2 separate regions of the Homo sapiens genome follow, and region 2 is linked to region 1. The links are contacts of gene promoters, found by promoter capture Hi-C in blood cells and fetal thymus (Javierre and others, 2016). All regions are on one chromosome and are shown on one strand. Each heading gives the region's core, a stretch centred on a gene start or on the middle of the fragment in contact. The rest is flanking DNA. Distances are from core to core; before and after follow the strand shown.

Region 1 (7,735 bases), core at 1,500-3,999:
GTGATTGCCGACCTAGGGGTGGCATCCGCTGGATAAGACTCTTGCCATATCATATTGCTGTATTTCAAGGTGAGGGGTGGAATAGAGGGCTGGACTGAAGATTGTGGGGAAAAGAAAGATCAGATTGTTACCGTGTGTATGTAGAAAAGGAAGACATAAGAAACTCCATGTTGATCTGTACAAAGAAAAATTGTTTCTGCTTTGAGATGCTGTTAATCTGTAACTTTAGCCCCAACTCTGTGCTCACAAAAACATGTGCTATATTGAATCAAGGTTTAAGGGATTTAGGGCTGTGCAGGATGTGCCTTGTCAACATATGTTTGCAGACAGTATGCTTGGTAAAAGTCATCGTCATTCTCCATTCTCTATTAACCAGGGACATGATGCACTGTGGAAAGCCGCAGGGACCTCTGCCCAAGAAAGCCTGGGTATTTGTCCAAGGTTTCCCCCCACTGAGACAGCCTGAGATATGGCCTCGTGGGAAGGGAAAGACCTTACTGTCCCCCAGCCCGACACCTGTAAAGGGTCTGTGCTGAGGAGGATTAGTAAAAGAGGAAGGCCTCTATTTCCCGCACATCCCTGGGAACGGAATGTCTCGGTGTAAAGCCGACTATTGGTTCTATTTACTGAGATAGGAGAAAACCGCCCTGTGGCTGGAAGCGAAATATGCTGGCAGCAATACTGCTCTGTTACTCTTTGCTACACTGAGATGTCTGGGTAAAGAGAAACAAAAATCTAGCCTACATGCACATCTCAGCACAGTACCTTCCCTTGAACTTATTTATGATGCAGATTCCTTTACTCACATGTTTTCCTGCTGACCTTCTCCCCACCATCACCCTGTTCACCCCGTTTTGCCTGAAGAGGGCCTGCCCCTCCACACCTGTGGGTATTTCTCGCAAGGTGGAGACGAGAAACTGAGAAAAGAAATGACACAGAGACAAAGTATAGAGGAAGAAAAGTGGGCCCAGGGGACTGGTGCTCAGCAATTGAGGACCTACACCAGCACTGGTCTCTGAGTTCCCTCAGTATTTATTGATCACTATCTCTACTATCTTGGCAAGAGGGATGTGGCATTATATACCATTACTATAAGGTAATGGTGGGGAGGGGGTCAACAGGAAAAAATGTGAGCAAAGGACTCAGTGTCATAAGTAAGTTTAAGGAAAGGTGCTGTGCCTGGATGTGCACATAGGCCAGATTTATGTTTGACTTTACACAAACATCTCAGTGCAGTAAAGAGCAGTATTGCCGCCAGCATGTCTCACCTGCAGCCATAAGGCGGTTTTCTCCTATCTCAGTAAATAGAATGTATGGTTGGGTTTTACACCCAAGACATTCCATTCCCAGGGACAAGCAGGAGACAGATGCTTTCCTCTTATCTCAACTGCAAAGAGGCCTTCCTCTTTTACTAATACTCCTCAGCACCGACCCTTTACGGGTGTCTGCAAAGAGGCCTTCCTCTTTTACTAATACTCCTCAGCACAGACCCTTTACGGGTGTCGGGCTGGGGGACTGTAAGGTCTTTCCCTTCCCACTAGGCCATATCTCAGACAATCTCAGTGGGGGGAAACCTGGACAATACCCAGGCTTTCTTGGGCAGAGGTCCCTGCGGCCTTTCGCAGTGCACTGTGTACCTGGTTAATCGAGAATGGAGAATGGCGATGACTTTTACCAAGCATACTGCCTGCAAACAAATGGTTAACAAGCCACATCCTGCACAGCCCTAAATCCCTCAAACCTTGATTCAATACAGCACATGTTTCTGTGAGCACAGGGTTGGGGCTAAGGCTACAGATTAACAGCATCTCAAGGCAGAAAAATTTTTCTTAGTACAGATCAAAATGGAGTTTCTTCTGTCTTCCTTTTCTACACAGACACAGTAACAGTCTGATCTCTCTTCCTTTCCCCCACACTGCCGCACTCCCCTTGCCGAGATAGTGAAAATAGTAATCAATAAATACTGAGGGAACTCGGAGACCGATGCCGGTCACCTGGGCCCACTCTACACTTTGTCTCTGCGTCTTATTTCTTTTCTCAGTCTCTCCTCCCATCTGACGAGAAATACCCACAGGTGTGAAGGGGCAGGACCCCTTCAAAGGTCAAGGCCATGGAGGTTCCCCCAGTGAAAATTCGGGGCGGGGAGGTGAGGAGAGCTCTGGACGAACGGAAGAACGGGGAAGGCCCAGCGCAGGGCCTGAGTGGTTCGCTCACCGACACAGATGTCCCCCAGCTGTTCCGGCCTCAGATTCACGTCCTTGAGAACCGCGGTCATGACTGCCGAGAGAAGCTCGTCGGGGGTGGTGTCCTGCAGCAGAAAGAGCAGCCGCAGTGACCCCCACTCCCCCATGCCCACCCCAGGGAGACAAAGCGACCACAGCTGGGTGCGGAGCTGCCTCCGGCGTCCAGGATAACCAAACATACGAACCGGACCCCAGCCCGCGCCGGCGTCTTCCCACACTCGGCGCCCAGACCCTCGGGCCTCACCTTGAAGCCGCCGCGGCCCGCCCGGCAGATGGCCGTGCGCCGCCCGTGCACCACCACCACGTCCGCGGCCGAGGCCTGCGGGGCACCGCTCAGGCAAGGCGCGGCCTGCGGCATCCAGCCGGAATCGGCCGGACCCCTCAGGTGGCCCAGCACTACCTGCAGCCTCTGCATTGCGCAGGTCAACCCTGCAGACCAGCCACCAGTCCGGGAACTGACCGCGGAGTTAACAGACAGCCGTCCGCACACGCGCAGAACCACATCTCAGCCTCCAAGGCCTCAACTCCGCCCACAGCTCTGCGAACAGACGCGAGCGACCCTCCAAAAGTCCCGTCCACCTCCAGCCTCAGCCAACCACAAGGAGAGTCGGCCTGGGAACCCGCCCCTCCCCGCCACCGCCTACCAAGCCCTCTATAGGAGGGCCCACAGGCACCGCCCAGCCGAGCTTTCCACTCAATGCCCCGCCTACCTTGGCCTACCGCAGCCAACCAGAAGGTGTATCTTTACGAATCCCCGCCCAGAAATGCAGACCGGAAGTCTTTCCACCTTTTGTAGCCAAACCCGAGACCTGACCCCCAAATCCCTGTCTCCTGCCCGCAGCCAAACGGAAGGCTGGGCAGCCAGGACCGCTTACTGCTTGGGGGCTGGAGATGGAAGCCGAGGCTCTAATTCCTCTACCCACTTCCTAGGAGGCTCTGCTATCCCTCCGGTCCCAGTACCCGAGCTGGGGGACCTAAATACTTCCGAGACGCCCGAGTCCTGCTCCGACGTGGTTGGGCTTTCCCATTCTTTCGAGAAGACAGGGAATTTGGGCTTCCGGGCTGGCCGGGAGAACAGATTTTACAGACATGCGGGGTGTGACAAGCTCTCTAACTGGAGAATGAACATTTCACACTTTTACCAGTTTTACACCCAATTGGAATGATTTTATTAGTGCCCATTTCCCGTGCTAGGCTGGGGTCTCCACCAAGGCAGAGAGGTACCATGTATCCGGGGAGCCTGCGACACCCTTGACACTTAGTAGATGATCAATAAGTACTTGTCGAATGAGTAAATGAATGAACCAGGGCTCCCCAGGTCAGGACTGTGTCCCTAAACCTAAAGGGCAAGGCCACGTGCCCCCTTGACTCCCAATAGCAGGGCCATGTCTTCACCTGAGACCCTGGAGAGTAGTGCTGGGCTTTCCACAGACACCAAAGGACAGGGTGCCTTGTGCTCCCCAACCTAGTGTCATGACGTCCCCAACCATTTCGAGGGCAGGGCCACGGCATGCCTCAGGCTCCAGAAGGCAGCTGTCCGTTTCCCACTCCCACCTCGGGGAGCACAGCAGGGGTCTTCCCATACCCCTACTGGCAGGATTGCGTGTTCCCCAGAGACAGTGGAGGGCAGAGCTGGTGCCTTCCCACTTGTCCCCTCCTCGCCATCCTCGAGGGCAGGACCGTATGAACCCCTCAGATTCCTCCGTGGAAGAACTGTGGCTCCACCAGATCCCAAAAAGCAAGGCCCGTTTCCTACAACCCCCGAAGGAGGGTCGTCCTCACTCCGCCGCCAACCTACTAGCACCATCACCAGACCCTCGAGGGCGGTGCCGTGGACCTCTCCAGATCTCAAAAGGCAGATTCCTACTTCTTACGCCCCCCACATCACCCGCCTCGAGACCTCAAGGGTAGAGGTGGGCACCCCCGCCTCCGCACTTTTGCTCGGGGCTCCAGATTGTAGGGCAGGGCGGCGCTTCTCGGAAAGCGAAAGCCGGCGGGGCGGGGCGGGTGCCGCAGGAGAAAGAGGAAGCGCTGGCAGACAATGCGACCCGACCGCGCTGAGGCTCCAGGACCGCCCGCCATGGCTGCAGGAGGTCCCGGCGCGGGGTCTGCGGCCCCGGTCTCCTCCACATCCTCCCTTCCCCTGGCTGCTCTCAACATGCGAGTGCGGCGCCGCCTGTCTCTGTTCTTGAACGTGCGGACACAGGTGGCGGCCGACTGGACCGCGCTGGCGGAGGAGATGGACTTTGAGTACTTGGAGATCCGGCAACTGGAGACACAAGCGGACCCCACTGGCAGGCTGCTGGACGCCTGGCAGGGACGCCCTGGCGCCTCTGTAGGCCGACTGCTCGAGCTGCTTACCAAGCTGGGCCGCGACGACGTGCTGCTGGAGCTGGGACCCAGCATTGGTGAGGACGTCCCCTTCCTGGCCTCGTACCTGGGGGGTGAGGAGGCTGACTTTCCGCGGCCTCAGCATCCTGTCTCCCATGGAGAGACCCCATTTCCTGCCTCGGGGGCCCGAAGAAGCCTGCAGAGGGAGAACCATGCGGGTCCCGTTCCTTCTTAATAACCGGTCGCGGTTATTAAGAAGGACTGGAGAAAGGTCCGGATAGGCGGAGATGGGAAGGAAGCAGCTTAGGCAGAGGCTTTCAGGTAGGGCCAGGAGTCAGAATCAGGCTTCTGTGGGGGCATCTGGGCTGTTTCAAGTAGAGCAACAGGACAGGTGGGGCGATTGACAGTGGACTGTCTTAGAAACCTCAAGTCCTGGGGAAATGCAGCCCTTCTTTCTACTCACTGGCACTTACATAATATACATGCATAGGCGTTGGATACAGCCGCCCACAGACAGGCACACCTTGCTGAGTTGGAATCACTGCACCATAACCAGTGGGTCTCCTGAGCCTTTCTGGCATGCCCAGCCCCTTGCTCACATCTGCCCTGGATCCCAGAAGAAGCAGACCTACCTTGGTACCATTCTTAGGATCCCTAGGAAGGGACAGAGATACAAACCTGACTTTGATGGCCTTCCAGAAAGCCAGAACACCACTGACATCCCTTTGGGTCAGTTAGAGCCAGTGGGAGCTCAACTTCTCAGAGCCGTTGAGCTTCGCGTGGCACCAGTGAACTGGGGAAGCCCTCTAGAACAACCCAGCCAGAGGAGGTGGGACAGCGGCTGGATCCTGACTGTGGGTAAAGAGGTAGGCACTCCCAGGGAGGCTGCTTTACTCTGTCTCTTCCCCACAGAGGAGGATTGCCAAAAGTATATCTTGAAGCAGCAGCAGGAGGAGGCTGAGAAGCCTTTACAGGTGGCCGCTGTAGACAGCAGTGTCCCACGGACAGCAGAGCTGGCGGGCATCACCACACTTGATGACCCCCTGGGTAAGGGTCCAATACTGTTCCCATGGGACAGGTGGAATAGGACATTGTGGTGTTAAGAGCATGGGTGTTTGAAGCAGATGGGCTGTGAGACCTTGGGCAAGTCACTTAATCTTTCTGAGCCTCAGTTTCCTCACCTAAGAAATGGAGATAATAGTCCTACCTCTGGATTGCTGTGAGATGCTCATGAAATAATGTCTGTCTCGTGGTTAATCCAGAGCTTAGCCCCTGAGGTACTCATCTTTCCTCTCCTGGAAAGGGCACTTTCTCTGAGGAGTATCATCTTGGGAAGGGTGCAGGGCCCAGGGTTGCCTAGGCAGGGGACTCTTGGCTGGATCCCTCCCAAGCCTTCCCATGGAGCTCTGACCACCACCCTTGTGCTCTGCACCCAGGGCATATGCCTGAGCGTTTCGATGCCTTCATCTGCTATTGCCCCAGCGACATCCAGTTTGTGCAGGAGATGATCCGGCAACTGGAACAGACAAACTATCGACTGAAGTTGTGTGTGTCTGACCGCGATGTCCTGCCTGGCACCTGTGTCTGGTCTATTGCTAGTGAGCTCATCGAAAAGAGGTTGGCTAGAAGGCCACGGGGTGGGTGCGTGGATGCATGAAGCCCTGCCCTGGGGTCCAGATACTGGGCATCTCCTCCTAGCTGTGCACTGTCCAGCCTGGGCACAGTGGGCCCTTCCTGAAGCTATTCCCAGGGGATATGCTGAACTAAGTTGCCACAGGACCTGCAGCCTGCCCACTCTCCCCTAGGTGCCGCCGGATGGTGGTGGTTGTCTCTGATGATTACCTGCAGAGCAAGGAATGTGACTTCCAGACCAAATTTGCACTCAGCCTCTCTCCAGGTAAGCTCAACCCTGCTCTGGCAAGAGAATGAGGGAATGTGTAGGTGGGGCCTCTGGATTGTCAGCCTTCCCTCCCCAAGGACTGTGGATGCAGTACCAAAGAACTGCTGAAGATCTCTGCACACCTGAGCATGTGTGCATGTGTGTGCCTTTTTGTGTGAGTGAATGTGTGCCAGGGGTACTTAGATGGGGGATGGCTGTTGTTAACCCTGGGGTTGAAGACTGGGCTTGTCCCACCATGGGGCAAGGGCCTGATGCCAGCATGGCACCCCTTGGCTTGCAGGTGCCCATCAGAAGCGACTGATCCCCATCAAGTACAAGGCAATGAAGAAAGAGTTCCCCAGCATCCTGAGGTTCATCACTGTCTGCGACTACACCAACCCCTGCACCAAATCTTGGTTCTGGACTCGCCTTGCCAAGGCCTTGTCCCTGCCCTGAAGACTGTTCTGAGGCCCTGGGTGTGTGTGTATCTGTCTGCCTGTCCATGTACTTCTGCCCTGCCTCCTCCTTTCGTTGTAGGAGGAATCTGTGCTCTACTTACCTCTCAATTCCTGGAGATGCCAACTTCACAGACACGTCTGCAGCAGCTGGACATCACATTTCATGTCCTGCATGGAACCAGTGGCTGTGAGTGGCATGTCCACTTGCTGGATTATCAGCCAGGACACTATAGAACAGGACCAGCTGAGACTAAGAAGGACCAGCAGAGCCAGCTCAGCTCTGAGCCATTCACACATCTTCACCCTCAGTTTCCTCACTTGAGGAGTGGGATGGGGAGAACAGAGAGTAGCTGTGTTTGAATCCCTGTAGGAAATGGTGAAGCATAGCTCTGGGTCTCCTGGGGGAGACCAGGCTTGGCTGCGGGAGAGCTGGCTGTTGCTGGACTACATGCTGGCCACTGCTGTGACCACGACACTGCTGGGGCAGCTTCTTCCACAGTGATGCCTACTGATGCTTCAGTGCCTCTGCACACCGCCCATTCCACTTCCTCCTTCCCCACAGGGCAGGTGGGGAAGCAGTTTGGCCCAGCCCAAGGAGACCCCACCTTGAGCCTTATTTCCTAATGGGTCCACCTCTCATCTGCATCTTTCACACCTCCCAGCTTCTGCCCAACCTTCAGCAGTGACAAGTCCCCAAGAGACTCGCCTGAGCAGCTTGGGCTGCTTTTCATTTCCACCTGTCAGGATGCCTGTGGTCATGCTCTCAGCTCCACCTGGCATGAGAAGGGATCCTGGCCTCTGGCATATTCATCAAGTATGAGTTC
Region 2 (7,735 bases), core at 2,720-5,219, 380 kb after region 1:
TGAGGTCACGGGAATGTCTCATGAGGAATTACCCAAAGCTGGTAACACCAGGTGCTCTGCCAGGAGGACTCTCTGGAAGGGGCAGCCAGCTCACAGATGCCCTGGATCCCTCGAGGCCAGTCACTAAAAAGTTATGACCATCCCCTTCTTGCCAGTCTGCCAGGGCTCCAGGGGGGAAAAGTGGAAAATTATCTGGTCCTGGCCCAGGGCCAGCTCCTCGGTGAGGAACTCGAAGAAGTGGGTGCTGTGGCTGCGGTTCTCCTCAGTGGTGTCCATCATGCTGGTGGAGGAGATGAACAGCTGCGCCCAGGGCTCAGTGGACCTACTCAGCACCATGGTCAGGCCCGCTACACCCATCATGTTCACATGCTGCCCTTGTTCTGTGCTCCCTGGCCCATGCTCCCATCCTTGGGTTTGCCCAGGATGGAGGCTGTGGCGCAGAGCCATTTCTCCAACCCTGCAGGCACTTGGTTGGCAGGCAAGTTCGTGTCTAGCTCTAGGAAGGGCATGGGCTGTAGAAAAAGAGACCCATTCTTTTAGAGAGTATTTTTCTAGCCTCATATGAAGGCAAAACAAAGGCCTGCTACTTTTGTGAGTTGTAGGATAATTCTGCAGATGAATTTTTTTCAGTCACACACTTTGATTTTGATACCCTTTATTTGCTAGAGTACTACTTAAGGGGTGGTAAAAATATTAATATCAGCTTTGGCTTTTTCCTGTATATTTTATCTTAACAATGTCATCACATCCATCTTTCATCTTCCAGAAGTTCACGGTAGTTCTTAGTCCAGTAATGCAGTACTCTGTCATTTTTCAGCACTTTTATACCTTTTTACTGCCATTCCATATATTTATGTGGAATATATATATGGATATCCATATATATATATATGTATTTTCCTTTTAATTTGCAGAGGAGAGGACCAAAAACCCGTGTTCAATTTGCCTTTTTTAACTGGAAACCCTACTTTAATCTATATTTATTAGTGTTTTGCAAAGCAGGTTAATTTGTTTTTGTCTTTGCTTTTAGCAGGTTAATATTTCTTAATGTTTTATTTGGAAATAATTTCAAATTTATAGAAAGGTTATAAGAACAATAAAAAGAACTTCCCTGTATCTTTCACCTAGATTTACTGGTTGTTAACATTTTGCCACATTTATGCTCCCCCATATAGATAGGCATACACCTGTTTTTGTTTTCTGAACCATTTGAGTTAGTTGCAGATATCTTGTTCCTTTCCTCCTAAGCATTCTGTCATGTAACCACAGAATAATTATCAAATTCGTGAAAAAACATATAGAAATACTACCTAATATTTAGTCCATATTGAAATTTTACAAATTACCCAATACTATCCTTTATACTGTTTTTTTTTTCTGATTCAGTATCCAACCAGGATTGAGCATTGCATTTAGTTGTCATGTCTCTGTAGTCTCCTTTAATCTGAACTAGCTTCTGACTCAGCCTTTTGTCTTGAATGACTTTGATATTTTTGAATAGTACGGGCCAGTTGTTTTACAGTATGTCCCTCCTTTGGGTTTGTCTGTTGTTTGCTCATGATTCATTATGTTTTTGGCAGAATGTAGGAGCAGTGATCTTGTGTCCTTCTCAGTGCATTGCATCAGGAGGTGCATAATATCAGTTTGTCTGATTATTGATGATTTTAACTTTACTTGGTTAAGGTGGTGTCTACCAGGTTTTTTCACCATTTCCCCCTTTGGAATTTATAAGTAATCTGTGGAAATACTTTGAGGCGATGTAAGCATCTTTTTCGTCTTCGAACTTTCACTCAATAGTTTTAGCATCCATTGATATTTCCTGCCTGAATTAGTTATTACTATGTTAGTTGCTAAATGATGACTTTCTAATTCTTACTCCTTAATTTATTAGTTGACATTCCACTGTTAGAGCTTTTCCTTGTTATCAATGTAGACTCACAGATTTATTTTTATTCAAAGAGTTTTAATGTTTACTGTGATTGTTCATTTTGATGCTCAAATTGCCCCAGATTTAGCCAGTGGGAGCTCCTTCCAGTGTCTCCTGTGTCCTTTTGATGCATCCTCATCATTTTTTAGCATTTCCTACTTTCTGGTATAAGGCTATGTTCCATGTTCATCTTGGCCATCGGCCATTTCTCCAAGGAGCACTGGATCCTTTTAGTGGGGATTGATGTTTAGAAACCAAGATCTGGACAGCAATTCAGATTGATTCTTGAGTGCTTGCTCTGCTGTTTGGTTTGTCAGGTGTGTTCACCACATTTATTTTTAGCCTTTTGTAGTGGATGGAGAGAGCCCCAAAGCTCGTAGTATATGGATTCCATTGCCTTTAGTGGCTCACTGTTGAGAAGGCCTTTCTCCTCTGCTTTCTGTGTTCTTGTATTTCAAAACAGGGATTGACAGACACTGGTCATTAGGAAAGCAGTTCACTGTGTTTGTACATTGTGTATGTATATGTAAAGTTGAATATTGACTTCACGAATCCATATTTCTGGAGGAGCATATGGTTTTTCAGTTTTCTCAGAAGCATATCAAACTGACATCTACTTTTATATATTTATGTTTTTCACTAACAAATATCTCCATAATAATACTGCTTTTATTAGTTTTGGCATTATATTTCAAGTCAAACTTTATTTCAGGTAGAATTTTAAACCTAAAAATCTTTGGTGTATCTGTTAGATGAAAGCAAAATATAGTTTGTTAGTAAAATAAATTTGAAAAATTATCTTGAAATTCTTGCCAAGAATTTAATTGGGCCCAAATTTTTATATATATGCACACACACATGTATCTATAAACTTGGGAGAATTTGGTTAAGAAATAGAGATGTGGGAGGTCTACCTAGGCAAGGTGAAGAGATGAGAAGCGATAGGATATATGCTGAGAAAACAGTTAAGTTAGAGCGTTCATGTAGGGAAGGAGACAAAAATAAAAGGAAAGTTTGGGGCCTGGTGGCAGAAACTTCAAATGACCAGCTAAAAAGTTTAGGCAAGAACTTCAAGATAATTTTCTAGCAAGCAGGGCCTTTGAAAAGTAGGCAATTAATTATAAAACAAATATAGATAAAATGATGTCCTTTAATTATTCTGGGAAAGGGGACACAGCATTGCCCAGTGCTGGAGACTGGTCTGTTTCTCTCAAGCAACGAATAATTTGAATCATGAATTCCCACTTTCAAGGCAATGTCTTGCAATTACGTACGGCAATTCAGAGTGCTTGGAAAGTGTTTTGTTTTCTCAGATCTAGCCATTTAATATTTACTGCTTGCTTACAACTATACTCTGAACCTTATTTTAGGAAGTTGTACCCAATAAAAGGGTTTATTTAGTTTTCTGTCCAGGCAATGAAGCATATATGTGTTTTTACTTTGGGGGAAGTAAAGCAAATGAACTGGCATTTCTTGAGGGCCAGGTATACCAGGCAGTATGTAAGTAGCTTTATATATGCATCTCATTCAATCTTCACTACACCCTTACAAAAAAAGTAGTGACCATTTTCTTTTATAGACAAGAAAATCAAGGCTTTAAGGATCAAGTCTCAGGCATATAGCTTATAATTGTCAAAGAGGGTATCCAAACATGGGTCTGTCTGACAATTGCCAGTCATTCACAGTGTTACTCTTTGAAGCGCTCAAGTTTATAGTAAATGAATTGCTGTGCTGTTCATATACAAAAGCTTAAGGTTAGCAGATAATAAAAGATGGTGTGGATGGAGAGAGGAGTTACAAGTGATACTTGCTAGCATGCAAAAATAACAGAAAATGGGCCAAGAGGAGGATTCCTTATAGCCAGGCAGAAATGTCTGTTAGAATATGTAGGAAAGGATCACATCATCATAGAACTTGAGTGAATATGAGCCTAAGGGAAGATTCGTAGCAGTGATTTTATCAGAAGTGAGTCATCTGACAGTTCTAATCAGAATCACCCCCTTTATTATATAGCTGAGGTCATCCCTGTGCTTTCTCTGATGTTCCTGTTTCAAGAAGAGGTTGATTCCAGACAAGTGAAACATACCTGAAGATTCTGGTTTGGACATTATAAATGGTCTGACAAGAAAGTGAGCTTCAGATTTTAGAACTCAGTGATGGTGGTAATGTTAGAAATATTTAACAATCTGTGTTCTTTTATAACAGCACTTTGCAAACTTCCATTATACTAACCCTAAAGGGGAGGAAATTGAAAATGCCCTCAGGAGTCTTGAGACATCATTTGAAGTGATATGGGAGTAATATTTTTTTTTAAGTCTCTTGCTTTATATTTAGGGAAAGCTTTTGTTCATTTCCATATCTATTTGTTTTAATGAAAGTTAAATTATTTTACTGGTTGTCTCCCTACCCTCACCCTAAATTTTCAAGTACCATTGACAGCCTAGAAAGAGGGTGCTTGTTTTACTGTGACTTAGTAGGCTGCTACCCTTTGGCCTGGAACAGGTACCCCAGTGTGAGAAGTACCGTCTTCCAGGGTTTGTGCTGCCACAAAAGCATCTGCTGAGGCTCTATAGATAACACAGGGGGCGACCACATTCTTGTTGACTTTACCACACTTTGTGACTCCCTCACTTTTCATGTTCCTTCCCCCCCTCAGGTTCGGATTTCCTGTTTATCAAACTCCCATGGTTTCTTTCTTTCACTTGATCGGCATGACTTTTTAAGGGCGTGGTCTCTTGATCTGTCCCTCTAGTTTTATTTTTGGAGTTTCTTTTTTTGTCTTACCAGGGGAATGTAACCAAATATATCTATCTAATTCTAGCAGGTACATATTTTTTCCTCTTGATGCTGCTTAATATTTTATTGGAGGCACATTTACAGTATGTATGACCTTACAAATGGCAGGCTTAATATGGGTATTGTTTGTTTTGGGTCTCTTCTGGGTCTGGGTGGCACAGGTGGTGGTGGCAAATTGTCATTTCTGTCTCTTGGATGGAAGGAAACAAGCTCAGGCCAGTATATAAGAAAACTAGCTTCAGGTTGCGAATGAGTGCCAGCTTATGTATTGTATTTTCTAGTTAACTCCCAGTTGACTTCCAATTTTTGCTACAGTCTTGAGTAGAGTTCAGTGCTTCTTGGGAATTTAATAGCAGCAAGGGTTTCCTTTGCAAAATATTTTTATACCTAAATCTTACATGAAAAGGGTTGTTTGCTGACTCACTGATTAACTAGACTTGGTTTATGTTAAGCCTTTGAGTCCTTTGTTACAGACATCATTTGTGCCCAAGTTGCTTTCTCCTCCTGAAACCCCATTGCTGACCTGTAACTAGTCTAATCTTGCTTGATTATACGTTTCCCCCGCCCCCATCCCTCTGTAAAACCATCTTTTGTACCAAATGCCGTTGTATCTTTTGAATGATGTCCACTACAAAATAGCTTTTTACATAGATCTTGTAGATTTTGAAAAATTTTTAACTAACATGTCATTGTATCTTCATAACAATTCTATGAGAGAGGCATTTATAAAATACAAAATAGCAATCCACCCACGGGGATGGCTGTTACGTATTTTGTAAATGAAGAAACAAGAAATGGGTGGACGCGACTTGCAGCTTAGTGGCAAAGCCAGGTTTGACCAGGTCTCTGGGCTTCCAGTCCACCAAACCTCTAGTAGTGTTTAGAAACATTTCTGGAAGTCTCCCAATTTTTCCAAAAGTAGGAAAAATTTATTATGTAGATTGAGTTGTCTTTAAAGAGACAGCTCTAAAATATTTTACGATTGATGTTGTTTTAAAAAATTGTCTTAAATTCAAGGAAGAAACGGTGTGTTTTTCTGAATACCCAACTAGGACCTGTCCCTATATTAGACAGATTAAAGATGTTTGCTTCCTAAGAACAAAGCAGACTGAATCAGAAAAGAGATTAGTGAGTGGCTAAGTTTTTATTTTTCTCCTTAGTTCTAGGGATAGTATTTTACCCCCTTGAAATAGTGTGAGAAGGTCATGGGTAGAAGGATCACACCTGTGATTCCTAATAGGAATTTCTGTTTCCATGAGGTTTCTCAAAAGTAGAATCGAGGTCCTTTAGCAATTGTAAGAGTTTTTAAACACCTATAGAAATGGTACATTTGCATAAAGTAAAGCTGTAGAACTGAAAATGTCCAACGTCTTTACTTTTGGCTGGAATTTTACGAGCCTGATTAGCTCTGCATGGCAGCAATGGGCATGTTAATTATATTTGAAAATTGCCGTTTGTTTGTAGACAAGGAGTCCATGAGGAGAGAAAATCAAGTGAATGTTCTTGAACTGTACTGCAGTGATGGGGAATGTCCACAAGGTGGCGCAAAGACTTTGTTTAACTGCTGGATTCCTAGCTAGCACCTGGAATACTTGAAGCCCCTTTCACCTTCTCCCTCTTTGCAAACTATGGCTCAGCTGCATCTGTGCCCTCAGTTCTGGTCCCCAGCTTCCCCTGAATCCCCTTCGTGCTGTTATTTGGGCTTTGTATTGGTACCTAACCACATTCTACCTGTAGTGAAAGCTGAAGGTCTTGGTTCCCACTCTAGGTGGTAAGTTTCTTGAGTGGAGGCACCAGCTGCATATACTTTAAAGCATATTCTTTTCTGTATTTCCAGCAATGCCAGGCACAGGACCTCTGAGTTGCATTGTTGAATTAACATCTTTTGGTTATTTGTGAGTTAATTGTGGACTTCCATAGGGTTCTCCCTCAGTATATTTTTGGCTTTGAAGAGTATGTTTATCTTCCCAGCTGCATAAATGAATTTTTGGGGTGAAATGGGGATTTTATGTTTGTAGTACATAGTTTCATAGACTTTACACCACACCCCGACCAACCACTTTCAGTAACTTCGAAGACAGTTGGTTATGGAAATCATTCCCGTGCACGGGTCTTCCCTGAAGCTCTGCAATTGGTCTTGGCAGTGGGACCTTCATGTGTGACAGACAGCAGATGGCCATGGAGTTCCCAGGCTGTGTGCCATGTAGGTAGGAGCTTGAAAAAAGCAGAAAAGAAACCTCCTTTGTAGCTGTCGTGTCTCTGTCTTATTTGGGCTCACAAGAAGGAATCTTGCTGCAGGCAGAGCTGTCTGATCAGGAAAGAAAACTGACTCTTACCAGGGAAGGGCCCGGGAGGGGCAGTAATACCAATGAGCATGTTTTAGTTGGATTATGTCAGTTATTGGGGACCATTAAGTAAATAGATGTTGAGTATTTTCTTTTTCAAAAAAGCCTTTTTGTTTTGTTTTGTTTTGTTTTGAGATGGAGTTTCGCTCTTGTTGCCCAGGCTGGAGTGTAGTGTCACAATCTCGGCTAACTGCAACCTCCACCTCCCGGGTTCAAGTGATTCTTTTGCCTCAGCCTCCCGAGTAGCAGGGATTACAGGCATGCGCCACCACGCCCAGCTAATTTTGTATTTTTAGTAGAGATGGGGTTTCTCCATGTTGGTCAGGCTGGTCTCAAACTCCCAACCTCAGGAGATCTGCCTGCCTTGGCCTCCCAAAGTGCTGGGATTACAGGCATGAGCCACCACACCTGGCCCAGATGCCAATTGGAAGGAAATTTGAAAAGGTTTAGTAATAATGTTATTTCATTAATTTCAGCCAAACCACACAACTAATTTATGTTTTCTAGGCCTGACCCTGGCTCTGGCTTCTTCATTGTGTGGATACCTTTCCAAAATGTTTGATATGACAACATATTTAGAAGTTCTTTGATCACAAGCCCAAGGATGTGCAAAACTCAGAGCAAACAGCATTTACATTTATGTAATTTAATTTTAAAAATTAGCCCT

Evidence for each region. The method cuts DNA at HindIII sites, captures the fragments that hold promoters and counts their contacts. A CHiCAGO score of 5 or more calls a contact.
Region 2: a contact is called between a fragment that was not itself captured here and the fragment with the promoter of ACAA1 in region 1, in 5 of 17 cell types (naive CD8 T cells, total CD8 T cells, fetal thymus and 2 more). The highest score is 7.3, in naive CD8 T cells.

The regions. Positions count from the first base shown.
Region 1 is chr3:38,134,378-38,142,112 of GRCh38, forward strand. ACAA1 (acetyl-CoA acyltransferase 1) reads right to left here and starts at 2,750. Exons shown (of 12, transcript NM_001607.4): 1 at 2,488-2,750; 2 at 2,215-2,308. The coding sequence starts at 2,658. It overlaps MYD88 (MYD88 innate immune signal transduction adaptor), which reads left to right and starts at 4,284. Exons shown (of 5, transcript NM_002468.5): 1 at 4,284-4,651; 2 at 5,487-5,621; 3 at 6,011-6,191; 4 at 6,380-6,471; 5 at 6,755-7,735. The coding sequence starts at 4,324. The coding sequence ends at 6,909. RefSeq lists enhancers at 3,865-4,808, 3,968-4,377, 4,878-5,007. The HindIII fragment of the contact is 10,893 bases long and covers 1-7,735 here.
Region 2 is chr3:38,515,322-38,523,056 of GRCh38, forward strand. All of the region lies in intron 5 of EXOG (exo/endonuclease G), which reads left to right. It also overlaps the pseudogene DDTP1. Among named protein-coding and RNA genes, the nearest start is that of EXOG, 23 kb to the left of the region's middle. The HindIII fragment of the contact is 592 bases long and covers 3,674-4,265 here.